Linked DNA regions of Homo sapiens: region 1 is linked to region 2. The links are contacts of gene promoters, found by promoter capture Hi-C in blood cells and fetal thymus (Javierre and others, 2016). All regions are on one chromosome and are shown on one strand. The core of a region is centred on a gene start or on the middle of the fragment in contact, and the rest is flanking DNA. Distances in the headings are between cores, read along the strand shown. Region 1 overlaps LOC102724434 (a long non-coding RNA gene). Region 2 holds the start of CAV2 (caveolin 2).

Region 1 (3,469 bases), core at 942-3,441, 220 kb before region 2:
TGCCGAATCTGCTATTACAGACTCAATGTGTGTGCTCCACATTCATACATGTTGAAACCCTAATCCCAATGTAACAGTATATGGAGATAGGGACTTTGGGATGAGTGGAGCCCTTATGAATGAGATTAGTGCCTTTAAAAGAAGAGGCCAGAAACCTACCTTGCTCTTTTTTTAGTCATGTGAGGAAACAGCAAAAAGTTGGCAGCCTACAACCTGGAAGTGGGCTCACACAAGAATCTGACCATGGTGGCACCCCGACCTTAGACTTCCAACCTCCAGAACTGTGAGAAATAATTTCCTATTATTGACAAGCCACCCAGACTATGATATTCTGCTATAATGCCCTGAAGTGTCTAAGCAGTCTTCCCTGTGCATTTCTTATAAATAACTTGTCAGTGGATTTAGAGCCACACAGATAATCCAGGATGATCTCCTCATCTCAAGATCCTTAATTTAATTATATCTGCAAAGTTCCTTTTCCCACGTAAGATAATAGTCACAGATTCTGGTAATTAGGACATGGGCATATTTTGTGAGGGCCACTATTCAACTCACTACAGAGTCCATGAGACTGCCAAGAGAGCTGGTGTCCAAGATGTTCAATAGCTTAAGGTGAGCCTGGTAGGGGAAGGGATGGGGACAGGGAAGGAAGAAGCAGAAAGCTCAGGTGGGTGCTGGGAAAGAGGTAGCTCCAAGTAGTGGCCCCTACATTCTGGCATCACAGATATTGAATATTTCTGTTTTGTCATCCAAGCTGGCTGCATAGTAGCTCCTCTAACACACAGACCTGTCCCCAAATTAAATTGTCATTATTTCAAAATACTTGGCATTAAAAAAAAGTATTGGATTCAAAGATCTATTCTTTTTAGCAAGGGAAATTCTAATTTTACAGTTGTTTTTGAAAAAAAGGCACAAGGTGCTAAATTTTTCAAATACACTTTAACTGTTATGTTAACGGTTTTAATTTTTATAACTTATGCAAAAAAGTGTCTTATCAATGAGGATTGTTAAGACCTTGCAGGAATCATCATTAATAAGACTTGACTAGGAGACTAGGAAGTGTTTAACCATTTCAGGCATGAAAATATGCCAAAGAAAAAAAGGTCAGGAAAGCATACTGAAGTCTCATTTTAAAAACTGCAAAGATTTGACTGTTTCAATATTCAATCTTTTCATTAATATTTGTGTTTATCACAATGATATAGATAAAGTATACATAATATGTTTTTTCAACAGGTCCCATGCAGATGCCTGCAAATCCCTTTTAGTTTACTCCAGTGTGAAAAAGTTAGAACTGTTATATGAAATAAGCATGAAAAATGCTTTTTCTCTTTTCCTCTGATATTAAATTATATATAATATATATAATAGCAGAGGAATATATAACATATATACAATAGCAGAGGAAAAGTGTTTGTGTGTGTTACTACGTATAGCATATATATAAACACAAACATTTTATATATACATAATTTCCATAATATATATTACATATTCAGTGATCAAAATTACTCTTTAGTTAGAAAAGTCAAAGAGGAATATGTGGGAATTGGGGAATGGGAAGAAAGAAGAGAGAAAAGAAAGGAAGTAATTTGGGTTTAAGTAAGGCTGAGAGTGTTAAAAATGAGAAAGTACAAGTGGTTAGAAAAAAAAGGATATTTGCAAAGAAAGTCATGCAGCCAAAAGGGACCCATTATGGAAAGTATTTGGTTTATAGTTTAATGCCTATTCTTCAGTCTACTTATTTGTTAATTTATTTACTCTACTTCGCTCACAAGCTTCCTCTCAAAATTGTACCACTCTCCTCAGGCAGGTGGATAAAGTACGGACAAATAACTAGGAAACAGTCCAAGACTTTATATTGCTTGTCACAGCAGTACCTCTTGTAACAATTTTTTCATGTGTGTATAACAAAAATATGTAGGCCAGTGGTTTCTTCAGACAAAAGTAGTCTTCACATTCCAGAAACTCATGGGGAGGTTGTTGAAAGAACAAGTTGTGCACACAGAAACACACCTGAAGAATCAGCCATTCCCTGGACTGGAACTTTAGCTCTGTTTTGAAATAGCTGAGGTGATGTTGACCTCCCTGGAAAAGACTTAGTCAACCCCAACAAGGTCATTCACCTTGGGAGCACAGGTCAGAGTAGATTTGGCCAATCAGTTCATGGCCATATTCGTATTCAATGTTGTTGGTTCCTCAGGGGATGGGACTTGGGTTTCAACACCCAAGGAAACAGCAAGTGAAGACATCAATTTAAGAAGAAGAGGAAAAAAATATGACTACTAGGACAAATTAAAGACTTGGTTGTGCACAAACAGAATGCCAGGGGTTAGCATAACATGGGGTGGTGAAAGTTGACCAGAGGTGGAGGCCAGAGCCCTGGACACTAGTTTGCACCTACTGCAAGTCACTTTTCATGTCAGATCCTCATTTTTCTCATCTGTAAAGAGAAAATATTTTATGAAACGATTTATGAGGTTTCCTCTCATCTAATTCTACAAATGCTCTGTGAATAGCTTCTGACTGGCTAAAAAGTCTCACTCCGTATAACTTAAGAGAGTGTGACTTTGTTGTGGTATGTCCTTGATCCTGGAGCATTCAGGAAGCTTGAAATATTTTCTCTATGACCCTTCACTCTTTCAGTGATGAAACTTGCCACAACTTGCCACAACACAAACTTGCCATGTGTATAGTATATATACACATGACCCGATCCCTATTTTTATTACCAGGGATTTGGCTCTAACTTTGCCCAACTCTCAGGTGATACTAAACTCTGGAGATTTCCCTGACCTTCACATTTGCTGTAGAGGACTAAACCCTAGTGCTAGATGGAGTTTGGATGCTCACTTTCATTACCTGATCCTTAAAAATTTAGAGCAAATATTTCTGATTTAAGATAAAATTATTAATATGATGTGTTAACATTTGTTTCTGGGGTGTTATTATAGCAATTAATGAGTCATGTAGGAGCTCCAAAATAGCAATTCAGAAATAGATATTACTGAGTAAGCAGTAAAATAAATATCAAAATTCTAATGATTGCCAGCTTTGAGTAAATCATGCCAGTTTAGGAAACAGAAGTGTCTATGATACTGCTGAACTAACTATATACAGCCCCCCAACAATTAAAGCCATATTAATTTGAAAGCAGTCAGTAAATATAAGAAACTTAGTTATAATATATAATATATGAATATATAATATAATATAACTTAGTATATATAAGAAACAATAGATCAGTAGATCTTCACCATGACTGCATGTTAGACCTATCAAGAGAGTTTTTAAAAATTAGCTTCCTCTGTTCCCTTCCCTACCCAATCAATTAAATTGGGCTCTCTGTGATGCGGCCAAGGTGTTAATATTTGTGCTGAGTTCCCTAGGTACCAATAATTTTTCAACAGACAGGGCTGAGAAACATTGCAGTCTATTATTTTTCTGGGGCATTATATGGCACTTCCAT
Region 2 (3,599 bases), core at 469-2,968:
TAGCCATGAGAGTCAACTCTGTAACACCCTATAGGGTTACAACACTGCCCTTCATATACTGAGGTAGCAGCAGGGAAACTTTTTAATTATTAGAAATATTGAACTTTGCCTCCCACCCCCAAACATTTTTCTCATTCAGTTCCTGTTCTTTTTTATTTCTGTAATTTTTACTGTTTCAAAAATGATCTTTTTTCTTTCGGAAGAAGCAATTCTTCAAATCCAGTTCACATAAGGGGATTTGATATGTTCAACAAGCTCCAAATACACTGTATCCAGCAATACCTACTACATGCCTACTTTGAGCTCTGAGCAACCTGCACCTCAAGCCTAGTTCTCATTGTTTTGCTTTTGGCAAATTTTCACTAAGTGCCCTTCCTCCCCAAACACACGTATATGTCTACCAGACCCTAAAGCCCTTTATGAACATGCAAACTCCTCCCTTCTGAAAACCTTTGCGTGAGTGGTCAGCAGGCTAATTCATCCATTGCAATGTGGCTTTGTGTTAGGGTTCTGTTTCCGTGCTGCCTGCAAGATAATCACAGATGTGACTGCATCTTAGAAGTTCCTGAATCTTTCAAGACAGTCTGGTTCACAAGAAAATTAAAAGGTGGAGGTCGGGCGCGGTGGCTCACGCCTGCAATCCCAGCACTTTGGGAGGCCGAGGCGGGCGGATCACCTGAGGTTGGGAGTTCGAAACCAGCCTGACCAACATGGGGAAACCCCGTCTCTGCTAAAAATACAAAATTAGCCAGGCGTGGTGGTGCATGCCTGTAATCCCAGCTACTCGGGAGGCTGAGGCAGGAGAATCGCTTGAACCCGGGAGGCAGAGGTTGCGATGAGCCGAGATCGTGCCATTGCACTCCAGCCTGGGCAACAAGAGCGAAACTCTGCCACACACACACAAACACACACACACACACACACACGGTGTAGTTTAGGAAGTAAAAAAAAAAAAAAAAAAAAAATCAGATCTCCCCTCACACCTCAGATCTGAAGGCACAAACTCTAGGGCCAGGGCGTTCGCCTACCCAACTCCACATGCACTTGCAGGTCACCTAGCACTCAGGTACCTAGCACTCAGGTACATTGTGGCTCCTTACCTCTCACGACAGCAGCAACAACGTTGATTGGAAGTTTATCACTGTGTGTTACGGGCCATGGGCCATGTGTGTTAGAATTTTATGTGAAATTAACATTTAATTCTCACGGACACCCCTGAAACAGATGCCACAGCCCCCATTTTGCCAACGAGGCAGCTGAGGTTCCCAGAGGCTCAATACCAGCACCATGAGCCGCAGCACGCAAGGCAAACACAGCCGGAGGTGAGCACATACCTGCTTCGCACCCCATGCGCCTAACCACAAGGTTCCCTCCCTCCAGGAAGGCCGTTGTCTTCCCTGGGACGACTTGCCAGCTCTGAGGCATGACAGTACGGGCCCCCAGAAGGGTGACCAGGAGGCCCTCCTCGTCCCAGCTGCCGGCGTCGCCGCCCACTGCAGGGCCCGGGCTGTGACTCGTGGGGACGGTTCCCTGCGCCCCGGCGGGGGAGGTGGGCGGGGAGGGGCGGCGGGGCGCCGGGGCGGGGCTCGGGACGGCCGGGCTGGGAGCTGGAGCCCACAGCGGGAAGCGGCCGCCGCCCGGGCCTCGCAGGGCTAGGCGAGGCGAGGGGGGGCGGGGCCGGGCGCTACGGGAAGGGGAGGCCGCGCGGACCGGGAGCCGCACCGCGCCAGCCGGGCTGCAGCGGCCGCGCACCAAGGCTGCGATGGGGCTGGAGACGGAGAAGGCGGACGTACAGCTCTTCATGGACGACGACTCCTACAGCCACCACAGCGGCCTCGAGTACGCCGACCCCGAGAAGTTCGCGGACTCGGACCAGGACCGGGATCCCCACCGGCTCAACTCGCATCTCAAGGTGAAGCCCGGGGCGGGCGGGCCCAAGTCCCCGCTGAGGCCGGGAGGTGCGGGCGCCCCTCAGCCCCGCCCTAACCCGTCCCACCATTGCTACCGGGTCGGCCCCGCAGGGTCTGAGACCCGCACCCTTCCCCGGTCCCACCCGTCACCAGGCCGCCCGCGTAGCCAGGAATTCTTAGCCAGGTTCCTGTGCGCCCACCGTGACCCTAAGAGAAGAGGCGGACGCCCTGGCACGTCCTTCCCTCCTGCTTCCCCCGCCCAAAGCGCTCCCGGTTCCCGGGGCGTCAGGTTGGCTGACAGTTCGGGGTCCCTGCGTCCTGTCTCCTCAGCTGGGCTTCGAGGATGTGATCGCAGAGCCGGTGACTACGCACTCCTTTGACAAAGTGTGGATCTGCAGCCATGCCCTCTTTGAAATCAGCAAATACGTAATGTACAAGTTCCTGACGGTGTTCCTGGCCATTCCCCTGGCCTTCATTGCGGGAATTCTCTTTGCCACCCTCAGCTGTCTGCACATCTGGTGAGACGGGGCACACCGGGTGGACCGGCTTTCTGAAACATGGGCATATTCTCCGCCACCTGCCCCCTACTCTCCTCTTATCCCAGGCCGGCGTCAGGAGGAGGAACGCGCATCAGTTCCCAAGCAGTAGGAAGAACTGGAAGGCCTTGAAAGGCAATGCGCTTCCTTTAGAATAACAGTTTGGGCTTGGAGTTTCAACAGGAGAAAGAATGTCGGTCTTTCCTGGGGTGTGATTTTCCTTGCATACATAAGGCTGGGCTGAGTGTGGAGGCGGGTACCTGGAAGCCACACTTCTTACCACAGGCTGCTCTCGGGGCCCTGTTGTGACTCGTACCTGCGGTTCTGGGCAGGACTCTTCTTTCTTTCATTGCCTTTTATTCAGTCACTGCCTGTGCTTGGGGTAAAACAAAAGTGATCTCTGAGCAGAATGCCGCTGACAGTAGAATTGGATGAGGATGTCAGACCTGGTTAAGCAGTAGTGTGGAGGGGCTGCTTCAACTTTGCCCCTGGCAGATGGCAAGGATGGGACCCAGAGGAAAGGGAGGTGTGTGCAGTTAAGGCGAGGGTCCCCCCCAGTACAAACGAATGAAAACTCCAGCTGCGGGATAATGAATGAGAAGGCCTCCAAATTACTTTTTCACTGATGAAACACAAATGGAAGTGGCATATAATTAAAGGGGAAAGAAATATGGAAGCCCACTGTATATTGATAGGATATTTTGAGTAACTCTATTCATACTCAAAATGTGTCCTAAACTGTAGAGAACTTTCTTAAGCATCTTTTAAATTTTTTATGGAAAATGTCATATTTTACCAATAAATGTTGTTGTGTTAGAAAATATCCACTTTAATCTGAGAGGAAGAATATTCAGATCATCCCCAGTATCACAACAGTTGTCACGCTAGTGCTTCAGGTTAGTCCTGGTGAAAGGTATAACCCAAGGTACCTCCGTGTCTTTCTTACACCTTTTATGATATTGCCACACCCTGATAAATACTCGGTGTTCATTGTTAGAAGTTACCAATTTATCCTTTATTTCTCTATACCACCTGAATCTTAATTTATTTAGTCAGTTAGCTAGCTAGTTAGTTCAACAAACTTTAAATTGATTGAGTGCTTAGTTTGTGCTGGGCACTGGGCCAGGATGAATGAGAGATAGGGTCTGCCTTC

Evidence for each region. The method cuts DNA at HindIII sites, captures the fragments that hold promoters and counts their contacts. A CHiCAGO score of 5 or more calls a contact.
Region 1: a fragment that was not itself captured here is called in contact with the fragment with the promoter of CAV2 in region 2 in 5 of 17 cell types (endothelial precursors, megakaryocytes, total CD8 T cells and 2 more); the score reaches 13.4 in endothelial precursors.

The regions. Positions count from the first base shown.
Region 1 is chr7:116,281,964-116,285,432 of GRCh38, forward strand. It overlaps LOC102724434 (a long non-coding RNA gene), which reads right to left. Exons shown (of 4, transcript NR_130922.1): 3 at 2,405-2,443. Among named protein-coding and RNA genes, the nearest start is that of TES, 73 kb to the left of the region's middle. The HindIII fragment of the contact is 831 bases long and covers 1,777-2,607 here.
Region 2 is chr7:116,498,020-116,501,618 of GRCh38, forward strand. It overlaps CAV2 (caveolin 2), which reads left to right and starts at 1,719. Exons shown (of 3, transcript NM_001233.5): 1 at 1,719-1,912; 2 at 2,241-2,428. The coding sequence starts at 1,763. CAV2-DT (CAV2 divergent transcript) reads right to left here and starts at 1,497. Exons shown (of 3, transcript NR_188012.1): 1 at 1,335-1,497. RefSeq lists enhancers at 734-1,235, 1,282-1,421 and silencers at 1,602-1,691, 3,476-3,599. The HindIII fragment of the contact is 7,148 bases long and covers 1-3,599 here.